2 separate regions of the Homo sapiens genome follow, and region 2 is linked to region 1. Evidence: promoter capture Hi-C in 16 types of primary human blood cells and fetal thymus (Javierre and others, 2016). All regions are on one chromosome and are shown on one strand. Each heading gives the region's core, a stretch centred on a gene start or on the middle of the fragment in contact. The rest is flanking DNA. Distances are from core to core; before and after follow the strand shown. Region 1 holds the start of ZBTB24 (zinc finger and BTB domain containing 24). Region 2 has its middle 69 kb from the start of GPR6.

The links. Contacts are between HindIII fragments. The CHiCAGO score rates a contact against its expected background, and 5 or more counts as called.
Region 2: a fragment that was not itself captured here is called in contact with the fragment with the promoter of ZBTB24 in region 1 in 1 of 17 cell types (neutrophils); the score reaches 7.1 in neutrophils.

The regions. Positions count from the first base shown.
Region 1 is chr6:109,479,198-109,486,254 of GRCh38, forward strand. It overlaps ZBTB24 (zinc finger and BTB domain containing 24), which reads right to left and starts at 4,022. Exons shown (of 7, transcript NM_014797.3): 1 at 3,901-4,022; 2 at 1,878-2,857. The coding sequence starts at 2,829. ZBTB24-DT (ZBTB24 divergent transcript) reads left to right here and starts at 4,447. Exons shown (of 4, transcript NR_187591.1): 1 at 4,447-5,640. RefSeq lists an enhancer at 1,513-2,014 and silencers at 3,713-4,002, 4,083-4,522. The HindIII fragment of the contact is 11,956 bases long and covers 1-5,989 here.
Region 2 is chr6:110,044,171-110,051,227 of GRCh38, forward strand. No RefSeq gene overlaps it. Among named protein-coding and RNA genes, the nearest start is that of GPR6, 69 kb to the left of the region's middle. The HindIII fragment of the contact is 3,516 bases long and covers 1,127-4,642 here.

The sequences.
Region 1 (7,057 bases), core at 2,772-5,271:
AACAGACCCATACTAAAGTGATGGGCTGCAAAATTCAGAATACAGATGCTTCCTGACTTATGATGGGACTACATCTAACAAACCCATCATACTGAAAATATCATAAGGAAAAATGCACTTATACAGAGTACTGTATGAATGCACCAAATGCAGAGTACTGGTCATTTACCCACGTGACTGTGTGGCCCGGCATGGCATGAGAGGATCATACTGAATATTACTAGACCGGGAAAAGATCAAAACTCAGAATTCAAAGTACAGTTTCTGTTGAACATGTACTGCTTTCACACTATTGTAAAGATGAATTGAACCATTGTGAGTCGGGGACTGTCTGTACTGAGGACATAAGGGAAGAACGATCCTACATGCTTTTTCTTAAGTCTTGTATAATGATTTAACTCTAAACTATGCACATAAAATTTTTGATAAAAATAGCCAGCTGGGCGCAGTGGCGCACGCCTGTAATCCCAGCACTTTGGGAGGCTGAGGCAGGCAGATCACGAGGTCAGGAGTTTGAGACCAGCCTGACCAACATGGTGAAACCCCGTCTCTACTAAAAATACAAAAAATTAGCTGGGCGTGGTGGCGTGTGCCTGTAATCCCAGCTACTCAGGAGGCTGAGGCAGGAGAATCACTTGAACTCGGGAGGCGGAGGTTGCGGTGAGCCGAGATCGCGCCACTGCACTCTAGCCTGGGTGACAGAGCGAGAATCCATCTCAAAAAAAAAAAAAAAAAAAAAAAAAAAGCTAAAATATAACCTATTACAGTTCAACAAATATTTCTCAAGTATCCACTTTGTTCGAAGTACCTGAATTCAAGCTCTTCAACCTATCTGTAGCTAAAGTCTTTAGGGAGCTTTTAAAAGCACCAAGGCTCCAGACAACTAAATCAGAAGCTCTGGGGTGGAGGTCTAGGCACTGGTAGTTTTAGAAGCTCCCTAAGTGATTCCAATTTGCAGGCTGAGAACCACAGCACCAGATACTGCTGGATCACAGGAGAAGACTTAAGCCCCAGTCCCTATACTTAAGATTACAATTAAGTTGAGGGATATACAAGTGGTAACAACAATCTGATCCAAAGCAGAGTGGGTTTTAAGCACCTGAAAGGGCTCAAAGGAGGAAGGGATTTCTCACTAGGACTGCAGTGTCCAATACGGTAGCCACTAGCCACATGTGGTTATTCAAATTTAAATGAATTAAAATAAAATTTAAAATTCAGTTTCTCAGTCACGCTAGCCACAGTTCAAGTGCTCAAAAACCACATGTGGTTACTGGCCACCATATTGGACATCAGAGATGTAGGAACATTTCCATCATCACAGAAGGGTCCCATTGGTCAGCGCTGGGCTAGAGGGACCAAAAATGAGAAGGTATTTAAAGCTAGATAGCTGAGTTACAAAGTGATCTACACAGACTTGGGCAAAAGCATGGTTATGGTCAAGATGAAGAATGTTCAAGAATCAGAAAGCAGGGTACATTGGGCTAGATCTTGATAAGTGGACATTAAAGGATTCATTCAACAACTACAAATGAGAGGGGTTCTTGAACCAGGCTACCTGGGTTCAATCCCAGCTCTGTCACTAACGGGTGACTCTGGCAAGTTATTTAAGCTCCCTAGAACTTGGTTGCTTCATCTGTAAACTATGCACTTTAGCAACCCTCTCTTACATATGAGTAAATATGATTTTAATCATACAATGTATAATGAGGATATTACCCACCTTGCAGGATTGTGGAGAAAATTAACTGCAATAACATGTATAAAGGCTTTATTACAATGCCCATCACACAGAAGTTGCACAGTAAATGGAAGCTATTATTATCATCACTACTCCCAATTCTGCAACACACTGCAATCAGCTTTGAAAACATCATTACCTGTGTGGCTCCTCTGGTGGATTGCTAAAAAGTGATTGTACTTAAAGACCTTGCCACAGTCTTTACAGCGGGCCTCAGGGCCTCCAGGGCGCTTTCTCCTTCCACAGATCCTCTTGGCTGAACCATGGTCCTCTTGATCCCCAACAAGTTTGTAATCTTTAAGTTTGACGGATCTCCAAATCCTCCGCTTGCTGTATCGACTCTGGCTTGCCTGGCCATCCTCGGTCTTGGGATCATAGTTCTCATCTTTTTCAACTGGCATTTCCTCCTCTCTACTTGGCTCACAAGTAGGCTCCGATTCTTCCTTTTCTTTTGCTGCAATTTGCTCATTCAGTACACCACTGTCTCCTTTAACCACAAAGTTTTGTCTATTCTGAACTGAATTGTTCACTCTTAACTGTATTTCTTCCTCTGCAGCCAGTTCTGATTTCTCCTCCTGCAATGTATTGACTTTTTTTGGTCTTCCCCGTTTCCGCTTTGGAGGATCGTTTTTCTTATTAGAGATAACAACCACTGGGGCACCAGCAGTGTTCAAAGTTGTTGGCTTTGGGGAGCTATGATTATTTTGGAAGTCTGTGTAAGCCTTTACCAGGTCATAGACTTTTAAGAACTGAGCAGTAGCCAGGATTTGTTCTGTACTTTTCTCACTGGCATGGAGATAACCTGTGTAGATAAATTCCAGCAGGATACCAAAGGTGTCTGCAACCATGCCTTCCAGCATATAAATGGATTGGCCGATTTCCCCCTCTTCTGCAAACATCATTGAGAAGTATTCACTACTGGCAGCAAGTAAGGCTTTGTGGGCCCGGAAATGTACATTCTCCACGATTAAAGTAATGTCACAGAGGAAGCCTTTCTTCCTCTGATCCTCAAAACTGGCCAGCACAGTGTCACTGTGAGCGTCTGAGTGTACAACAAGCTGCCCAGAAGGCTCTGGCGATGTTTCTGCCATTTTCTTCAGAAGCCACTAAGGGTTAAATCTGAAATAAGAAAACAAGGTTTAAAAAGGAGAAAGCACTGTCTAAAAGGTTAATGCCAGCCCACATGAACTTCCTATTCACTTCACATCATTAACTGAATTTTACCATTACCATTTTTGTCTGTCTACAAACTTAGCTCTGGGCCCGGGCGCAGTGGCCTCACGCCTGTAATCCCAGCACTTTGGGAGGCCGAGGCCGACGGATCACTTGAGACCAGCCTGGGCAACATGGAGAGAATTCATCTATACAAAAAATACAAAAATTAGCCTGGCGTGGTGGCGCCCGCCTGTGGTCCCAGCTACTCAGGAGGCTGCGGCAGGAGCATCACCTGAGCCTGGGAGTTCGAGGTTGCCGTGAGCCGTGATCGTGCCACTGCACTCCAGCCTGGGCGACAGAACGAGACCACCACCTCAAAAAACAAAAACAAAACAACTTAGCTCGCGGTTTTTTTTTTTTGAGACGGAGTCTCGCTCTATCGCCCAGGCTGGAGTGCAGTGGCGCAATCTCGGCTCACTGCAACCTCCGCCTCCCAGGTTCAAGCAATTCTCTCCCTCAGCCTCCTGCCGCACATTAACTAGCTGAGTGACTCTCCAGTATTCATGGAACGGTTCAGGGTCTACCTTCTATAAAATGAAGGAATGGGATTAACCATCTCCAAAATCCTCCGCAAGCACGAACTTTCTATGGTTGCACAACTATTTCAGGGAGAACGAAGCTGCCTCCATCTCCCAGATTATTAGCCATTTCGTATGTGGGAACCAATGTGAAGAGTGAAGAAATGTGCACGTGCAAAGTGAATGTGAGGTAGCTGCAATAAAATACTAATAACTTAAGCTGCGTGGGGCCGCCAGACACACTAGGGGCGGCGCGGAGCCCCCCGCAGCCCCGGGTGGTCCCAGCAGGGAGAGGTGGCGCGGAAAGACCCCCACCTCCCCGCCCAGGCCCCGCGGGCCCGACTGGGGAGCACACGGCGGGGGAGGGGTCGGCGCGGCAGACCTACCGCTCAGGGGCGCCCGGTGGGGTCCGGGTCGCTGCCAACTCACCCGGCGGCCTGGCGGGAGACCCACGCCGGGGCCCGCTGGCCCTCCGCTCCGCCCCGCCCGCCTCTGGGGCTTCTGCGCCGCACCGGTTTCTGCTCCTGCGCCGCCGCCGCAGCCACAGCCACAGCCAACCCGGAAGCGCGGCGCCAAGAGCCGCTTGCGCGCGGACGCCGAACCACGTGGCCCGCAGAGGCGCCCCTGGAGGTGGGGGCCACGAGAGCGGCGGGGAGGGGAAGGGAGGTGAGGGGCGGGGCGGGGCGAGATGGCGGGGCGGGGCGGGGCGGGGCAAGGCGGGGCAAGGCAGGGCAAGGCGGGGCGCGAAGGCAGTTCAAGGGTTGGGGCGTGGCAGGGGAGGGGAGGGGCAAGGCGGGGCGAGAATGCAGGCCTGGGGTCGGGGGAGCCGCGGCGGGGCGGGGCAGGGCGGGGCGAGATGGCAGGCCCGGGGCTTTGGGGCCGGGGCCGGGGCCGGGGCCGGGGCAGGGCGGGGAGGGGCGCGGCTTCGGAGGAGGGACAGTGGCCGGGGCGGGGCGCGGCCAGGGGCGGGGCGGTGTCGGCGCCCGAGGTCCTGCGTGTGGCACTGCCGGGGAGCCCAGGCAGGAGCGACTTTTGCGGTGAATTGGGGGCAATGGACAGGAGAGGCGTTGTGACCCCTCCCTTTGGGAAGTTTTATATCGTATTAAACTGTTAGCTCAACGCCAATACCTTAATTTTATCTCTTCTCCGACACCGAATCTGGTGTTGTTCTTGAATGTATAAAGGCATGAAATCCCCCTTACCGTCATCATCATTGTCATCATCATCACCATCGTCATTATCTAGTGCTAATATAATAACTATTACTTACCTCCTAAATGTTTTTCACATCTGCCTCCTTTTCCTCCCCACTCCTGATGCCTTAGTCTAAGGGAATGAAGAGAGCACTGCAGTCAGAGAAACCTGGGTTCTGAGAGATCTTGGGCAAATTACTTACCCTCACAACTTCTTTACCTTACCTGTAAAATGGAGATGTTAACACTAGTGCCACTTTGGTAGGGTTGCTATTGCATAAACAAAATTAAGTATGTAATGGGCTTAGGAAATGCCTGGTTTAATTCGTCTGCTGTGATTAAAATGATCATTATTATTCAAACTTTCATCATCTTTGTTCAATAGACTGTTTCTAACTGGTCTCAGCTGCAGCGTTGTTCTCTTTAATTCGCAGAAGTACAGAGGATTTCTCCAAGTACATATGAGATCCAGAGACTAGAGTCACTCCTTGGCTTAGAATCCATGTGGCTCCCACATGCCCTCTGGATAAAGTCCAGGCTTCTTAATGTGGTCTACAAGCCCCATCCAGATCTACTCCCCACCTGCTTCCATCCATTTATTTCAGCATTTTCTCTCTCTTAGCCAATACCTAATTACTTATTTTTCTGCCCATTTCCAGATTCCCAACATGCCATCTATAGCCTCCCTGATCTTGAACCGGAGGTGTAATTAGCAACCTGGCTCTTACATTTTTACTAGATTTTATTAAAACTAGCTCAAGCCACACATGCTCCTTCTCTGAGGTTTCCCTTTCATATTGAATTGTCTCTAAGTCCTCTGGATTTGTGGGGGTACAAGTGGGATGGGGAGCGCTCCCTGACTTCTGCATACCAGCAGGAAGTTAGCTACCTCATTGTTTCTTGCTGCTACGAGGGTTGCAGTCAAATCACTGTCCCTCCAGAGGTCCTCAACGGCATAAGAAGACTCAGTGCCAAGGTAAGCCAGGTACTTCCATTTCCTCATTCAATCATTGCTCACTGGAGCATAATCCTGCGAGGAAAGACTGAGTCTGGAGGATCTTCCAGCATCAGCCACCCACAACACAGACTAGCCCTTTCTTCAAGGCAATTTTGTTTTGGATCCATACTGACTTTTTCAAAACTTTTGTTCTTGTTAAGGCCAGCCGGTCTACCCCTAACAGGTCTTCTTAAATTTAAATCTTGCAGAACAGGATTTGGGGTGTCATACATTCATCTAACAGATATTTATCGAGTGTCTACTAAGAGCCAGACATTGGCGTCAGGTGTTGGGGATACAGCAACTAACAAGGCCTTTGCTCTCATGAAGCTTACATTCTACTAAGGGGAGACAGGACAAATATACAAGTAAACTAATGAATAATAGTTTCAGAAAGTGTTAAATTTTATAAAGAATGATGATGGAGACTGACAGGGAAGTGAAATCAGGATAGGGTGACATTTGAGCTGAGATCTGAATGACATGGAGACAGCTGTGGGAAGATCTGGAATAAAAATGTTCTAGGCAAGGGAAAAGCAAGCATAAAGGCTCAGACTGGGAAGGAGCATCTGATGAACGGCAAGGACTGTGTGGCTGGAGCACAGTGAGTGAGGGGCAGCAGATGGAGTGGAGAGTTGCCAGATTTCACAAATAAAGACACAGGACACCCATTTAAAAAAATAAATGCTGCCTCAGCCTCCCATGCTGGGATTACAGGCATGAGCCACCTATACCCAGCCAACAAAGAATTTTTTTTCATATAAATTTAGTGTAGCTTAGAGCGTACAATGTTTATAACGTCTACAGTAGTGTATAGCCATGTCTTAGGCCTTCACATTCACTCACCACTCACTCACTGACTCACCCAGAGCAACTCCTATTCCTGTAAGCTCCATTCATGGTAAGTGCCCTACACAGGTGTACTTTTTTTTTCTTTTATACTGTTTTGTTTTGAGACAAAATCCCACCCTGTTGCCTAGGCTGGAGTGCAGTGACATGATCTCAGCTCACTGTGACTTCTACCTCCTGGTCTCAGGTGATCCTCCCCACTTAGCCTTCTGAGTAGTTGGGACTGCAGACATATGCTACCACACTCCACTATTTTTTTTTTTCCGTATTTTTTGTAGTGATGAGGTTTTGCCATGTGGCCCAGGCTGGTCTTGAACTCCTGGGCTCAAGTGCTCTGCCCACCTAGGCCTTCCAAAGTGCTAGGATAACAGGCATGAGCCATCAGTATACTGTATTTTAAGTGTCTTTCTTATGTTTTGATATGTTTAGATACAGAAATACCACTGTGCTACAGCTGCTTACAGTATTCAGTACAATAACATTCTGTACAGGTTGGTAGCACAGGAGCAATAGGTTGTACCATAGAGCCTAGGTGTGTAGTAGACTA
Region 2 (7,057 bases), core at 1,635-4,134, 560 kb after region 1:
AAATCGAGGGCCTGAGTTTCCTGTATCTCAGCAAAGTAGGTGGGGATTGAAAGGCCTTCCCTGCCCTGCTGCCCAAGCTGAGCTGAGAGCTTTCCTGGTGCCCGGGCAGGGGCGGGGCAGGCATGCACAGGCCTGTCCATGCCCACATGTGTCTCCAGCACAGATGTTAACCACAGAGTATGACAGGAAGACCCCACTTCACTTCTGCAGACCCAGTAGCAAGCAGAGAAGGATTAACCCTGAAGCGAATGAAGCTTTAGTACCTCACTTCAAGGATCTGGGAAGGGCCCCAGCAATGTGTTCCTATGTCATGTGTCTTTGTAAACTGTATAGATTTAAGCTATCTTAACCTCAGCCAGTGAAGACTCTTTCCCTCCTGGTGTCCCCTCCATCACACAGCGCCTTTTGTAGAGTGACAGAGGATGTTCTGAGCATCTGGTTAAGGGGAATTAAATACAGGAAACATTTAATTGGGATTTCTTGGGATATTTTATATGGTCCACAGTTACTTCTATGTGTTAAGTAATTGCTAGCTGTTGTGAGGAATGGCTTCAGGAAGTCTCACCGCCTTCTTGCCCCAGAGGTGCAAGGCCAGGGGCTGTGCAGCAACAGTGAGGGAGAGGCAGAATTTGGAATGGATGGAGCCAGAAGCGAGTCTGTGGAATATTCATCCAGTTCTCACAGCTCACATGAGAAACCTGACACTAGGCTTCAAACATTTGACAACAAATCTGAAAATGTACATAACACTGCCAATAAACAGCAGGAAGAAACTTTGGTAAAATAGAATAAAGAAATGTTTTCCACCATGTTTGAGGAAAAGTGAATTATCTTTCTCTTCTCTCCGTAAAAAAAAAAAAGGAATCACAAAGTTGTCATGTGAAGAGGCGATTGAAGAGTATGGAAGAAAAAAAAAAGATGGGGAATGAATGAAGGGAATAAAGTGTTAATATAGTGTTATAAGGGTGTTTCAAAGAGTTAATTAATAAAAATAGTATGTTGTTTGAATTTGATATTTGTGGAATTTCTGATTCATTGTGACTTCTTTTCTCATTCTAAATAAATGCTTTTATACCTAGAATTTTAATGTGTATTTTTGTTTTAAGAAAGCCTCCAAAATTATATAAGCTTCAGGCCCCACAAAACTTGGATGCAGCATGGCAGGAAGTCACTAAGGTAACAATTTAGACCCATCAGAAAGAAGTCAACCATGTAACTAACAACAGCAATGGCATTCTGCCTTCTGCAATCCCAGAGAGCTTTTATATATAAGAAAGGCAATTTAGCACTGACAAGCGCTGGGTTCATAAGTAATAGAACCTTTCATTTCCTTTAACACGGTTAAAGGAAACATTCTCACTTGCAGATGAATAATGCACACTAATTTCTGCAATTTGGTAGTTCGGACCTCAAAAGGAAGGAGAGATCCAATGTCAAGCGAACTTTGTCATTGTTTCTGGTAAGGTGGGGCTGGGGGGTCTCTGGTGGTCATGGGGAATCCTGTCCCACTGCAGGGATATATGGGAGGACAGAAACTTCCCCTGACCTCAATTAGAGGAGGGGAAGACTCATATCTCCGGAACAAATCTCTCCACCGGCTCACCCAAGCCTCAGGAAAGGTATGAATGGTTTTAATTTTGAGTCTGCTTTGGCAGCCATTTTTCCTTGACTTTCATTTTCTTCCTTTCTTTTCAAATTATTTTATATTTGGGGAAATGAGGCATCAACCAAAAAAATCAAGTCAACAACATGCTTGTGTCTATTAGGAGGACAGCTGGGAGCATGCACTGGTGGTGGCTGAGGCTGGGATTTTGACAGGGTTCTCCCGGTTCCCATTGTGCCTCCTGAGCCACGACAAGGTCCCCAAGGAAGGCTGAACATGACAAATGTCTCACCCTGCCCTCTGTTTATTTCTTTAAATGTTCACTACATTATTTAGTAACTACTCTTAAAAATTATTGGAAGATTCAGACTTCAAACTATACTACAAGGCTACAGTAACCAAAACAGCATGGTACTGGTACCAAAATAGAGATATAGACCAATGGAACAGAATAGAGCCCTCAGAAATAATGCCGCATATCTACAACCATCTGATCTTCGACAAACCTGACAAAAACAAGAAATGGGGAAACGATTCCCTATTTAATAAATGGTGCTGGGAAAACTGGCTAGCCATATGTAGAAAGCTGAAACTGGATCCCTTCCTTACACCTTATACAAAAATTAATTCAAGATGGATTAAAGACTTAAAGGTTAGACCTAAAACCATAAAAACCCTAGAAGAAAACCTAGGCAATACCATTCAGGACATAGGCATGGGCAAGGACTTCATGTCTAAAACACCAAAAGCAATGGCAACAAAAGCCAAAATTGACAAATGGGATCTAATGAAACCAAAGAGCTTCTGCATAGCAAAAGAAACTACCATCAGAGCGAACAGGCAACCTACAGAGTGAGAGAAAATTTTTGCAATCTACTCATCTGACAAAGGGCTAATATCCAGAATCGACAATGAACTCAAACAAATTTACAAGATAAAAACAAATAACCCCATCACAAAGTGGACAAAGGATATGAACAGACACTTCTCAAAAGAAGACATTTATGCAGCCAAAAGACACATGAAAAAATGCTCATCATCACTGGCCATCAGAGAAATGCAAATCAAAACCACAGTGAGATACCATCTCACACCAGTTAGAATACTGATCATTAAAAAGTCAGGAAACAACAGGTGCTGGAGAGGATGTGGAGAAATAGGAACACTTTTACACTGTTGGTGGGAGTGTAAACTAGTCTAACCATTGTGGAAGTCGGTGTGGCAATTCCTCAGGGATCTTGAACTAGAAATACCATTTGACCCAGCAATCCCATTACTGGGCATATACCCAAAGGATTATAAATCATGCTGCTATAAAGACACATGTACACGTATGTTTATAGCGGCACTATTCACAATAGCAAAGACTTGGAACCAACCCAAATGTCCAACAATGATACACTGAATTAAGAAAATGTGGCACATATAGACCATGGAATACTATGCAGCCATAAAAAATGATGAGCTCATGTCCTTTGTAGGGACATGGATGAAGCTGGAAACCATCATTCTCAGCAAACTATTGCAAGGACAAAAAACCAAACACCACATGTTCTCACCCATAGGTGGGAATTGAACAATGAGAACACATGGACACAGGAAGGGGAGCATCACACACTGGGCCCTGTTGTGAGGTGGGGGGAGTGGGGAGGGATAGCATTAGGAGATATACCTAATGTTAAATGACAAGTTAATGGGTGCAGCACACCAACATGGCACATGTATACATATATAACTAACCTGCATGTTGTGCACATGTACCCTAAAACTTATAGTAAAAAAAAATATATTGGAAGAAAGAAATACATGTTTATGCCTTTAAAAATCCCCTGTCTCTTCTGGTAGCAAGGCCTTGGAGCCCAGGTCCAGATGATAGTGAAAGGTACAAGAGTAGCTGCAGCTGGTACACCCAGGATTCTCCACATGAGGCCACCAGGGCACCTTTTCCAAAATCACCTGGGGCTTTTTAAGATGCAGATTTCCAGGGTCTCCCCTCTGAATTTTACCAAAGTGCCCAGATGCCATCCTTACCCTGAAATTCTGAGGTCTAACCCTGTGCCCAGAGGAGCCAAGAGCAAGTCCCTTGGACTAGAAGTATCCTTTTGTGGAGTACAGGAATCCCAGGTCCCTCACTCTCTACCTCAGGAGGCTCTTCGGCTTCTGTAGAGCAGCTACTGGAGTGTGATGGTTAATATTTAGTGTCAACTTGATTGGATTAAAGGATGCAAATTATTGATCCTGGGTGTGTCTGTGAAGGTGTTGCCAAAGGAGATTAACATTTGAGTCAATGGGCTGGGACAGGCAGACCCACCCTTAATCTGGGTGGGCACCATCTAATCAGCAGCCAGTGCAGCCAAAATATAAAGCAAGCAGAAAAACGTGAAAAGCCTAGACGGTCCTAGCCTCCCAGACTACATCTTTCTCCCATGCTGGTTGCTTCCTGCCCTCAAACATGGGATTCCAAGTTCTTCAGCTTTGGGACTCAGACTGGCTTCTTTGATCCTCAGCTTGCAGACAGCCTACTGCGGGGCCTTGTGATCATGTGAGTTAATACTACTTAATACACTTAATACTCCATTATCCATGTAACTTCTGTAGCCCCTGCATCAACTGACTCTGCCGGATGATTCCACAGTAGGGCATGGAGTCATTGACCAGAAGCCAGAGCTGATGACTCCATGCACCCCTCTCAGACTTGGAAGAAGAGCCACACCACAATGCATGGGGGATGAATTCCTCAGCAGTTTCTAAAAGGGCCAGGTGATGGAACCCCAAAGTGTGGTATATGAAACTCCACAGGGGATGAACTCTGATCTGTTGAGGATAGGAGTCAGGAGGGATTCTGCAGATCAAGTCACCCTCTATTCCTTCCTCCAGGGGGCTTAGTGTCAGGCTCATGAAGTAGGAATGCGGGAATCCACCCCGTGGCTGCACTGGTGCCTGGATAGATAGTCATTAGTTGCTGTAGAGATCTAACAACACAACAGCAACTCAAGTATCTAAACCTTTCTGAATCTAGCTTGGATGACTCCCTACTCAAGCTTACTTTGGGCCAGAAGTCTTAGAACTTAAAGAATCTGGGGAATCTCATAGATGTATCTAATACATTATTATGTGTTAGAAAGAATTGCTGTCTGGGTTCTAGAGCTGTGACTGCCTGTCTGTTTGGTATTAACCCCACATCATAGGGCAAATCACTCAACTTCTCTATATGTAGCAGAGGGTTAATGGTTAAAGGAAATATTCTCACTTGGAGACGAATAATGCACATCACTGTAGGATGGGTCAGTTGGGATCTCAAAAGGAAGTTGAGTCGGGGTTAGACTTCAGAGCTTCTGGGTAAGAAGAGGCAGTTGGACACCTTGTTAAAAATGCAGCTTCTTGGCTCTACCCCAGAGGTCCTGTTTCAGATCTGGGGTAGACTCTGGAAATCTGCATTCTGAGAAGCCTTCAGGTGATTCTGGTGAAGATGGCCTGGTGACCTTGCTTGGAGCATAATGGCATTAACATTAATTCTTTTCTTGCCGGGTTGTTATAAGACTTAAAGTAGAGTCACAAACATGCTTAGAATGGTACTTAGCACATCATAAAATACTAAACAAATTTCACTCTTTTTATTGCTCTTGATTTTCTGGGCTAGGTTTTGAGGATATAGCAGTGAATCAGGTAAACGTGTTGCCTGCCCTCAAGTAGCTCCAGGGAGGCGCAGTGGGGGAGGGGTGGGTTGCCAAGATCTGCTTTGGAATTGGAGAAGCTCTCCTGAACAGCAGCCAGGAGCTTCCTACCTTTCCCAGGGTGATCATCTCGGTTCTAGAATTTGAACATAGAAATATTCTAGGAGTGGCTATCTTGTTGGAAAGGGATAGGATACTTGTCTTAAAATCCTGTTTGCATGGCTCTTTACAGAATATCAAAAGATGCATGAGATACATGTCAATTGCACATACCAAACACTGGCAGGGGAAGGAGGATCTGGTTCCCCCGACCGCAGAATGGGAAACCAGGCAGGAAGCTGCTGTTTACCAGGCATAGCACCAGGTCCTTTCACATCAATTGCATTATTTAATCCTCATAATAGCTTGTCAAGCCGGTGTGGTCACCACATCTTTATATGTGAGAAAACCAAGTCTCAGTGAGAGTACATTAAACCTAAGGTGTCATAGCTAGAGAATGGTAGTGCTGTCTAATGTCAAAGCTGCTGTTCTTTCCAACACATAATAATAATGGACTCGATACATCTTATGAGCTGCCTTAGACTATTTAAGCTCTAAATCCTTCCACCCTCCATTATCCATGTAACGTCTGCAGCCCCTGCATCAACTGACTCTGCCAGATGATTCCACAGTAGGGCATGGAGTCACTGACCAGCAGCCAGAGCTGAGACTCCATGCGCCCCTCCCAGACTTGGAAGAAGAGCCACACCACAATGCACGGGGGATGGATTCCTCAGCAGTTTCTAAAAGGGCCAGGTGATGCAACCCCAAAGTGTGGGATATGAAACTCCACAGGGGATGAACCTTGATCTGTTGGGGATAGGAGTCAGGAGGGATTCTGCAGATCAAGTCGCCTGCTATTCCTTCCTCTGGCCTGTCCAAAAGGCATCTCCTGGGGCCATCTGACAGGCTGTGTCTTCGTGAAGCCTTGGCCAGGTCAGCAGCGGGGCCCGGCATTTGCTTCCCATCCTTCCCTGCCTCACACTGGCTGCCCTACTATTGCACTTCATTAAAAAGCATTACTACTTCAACTTTGCCTCAGATTCTGTTTTCCAGGGAATCCAGATTAAGCCAAAAAGAACAGGAAACATTTAGATGGATTATCTCATTTAATACTCATGGCATCCAAATAAAGTGTTATTATCCCAGTTTTACAGATAAAGTAACTTGTGGTTAAAATCATACACACACATGAACAGTGCAACCGGCATCCAGACTCAAGCAGCCTGACTAGGTCCCACTCCTCTAACTCTGCAGCAGGGACCGGAGCCTGATTAGGTCCCACACCTCTAACTCTGCAGCAGGGACCGGTACACTCCTATCAGCCTCGTTCATCTGATCCTCTATATGCCTCACCTCTAGTAAATATTTCCTGTGGAAACAAATGCTAGATATACTCGACTATTCATTCTCTCTATCTTGTAAAAGAATACAACTTCAGGACACTAATAACATATTCCCAGCCTTCCTTGCAGCAAGGTACAGTCAATTAGTTCTGACTACTGCCATGTAAGAAGAAATGAGGTAAATGGCTTCCAAATGGTGCCTTCGAAGAGAAAGAGACAGCTTCCCCTTCTCTTCCCCTTCTCCCTTGGCTAGAATGCAGACATGGTAAGTGGAGTCGTTGCTGCTTAGACAATCAGATGGAACCCACATGTTGGGGATGGCTGTGGAATGAGATGAAAGAGCCTGGGTCTCCCACACCATTGAACCAGGATACCAGCCCTGGACTTCTAGGCTT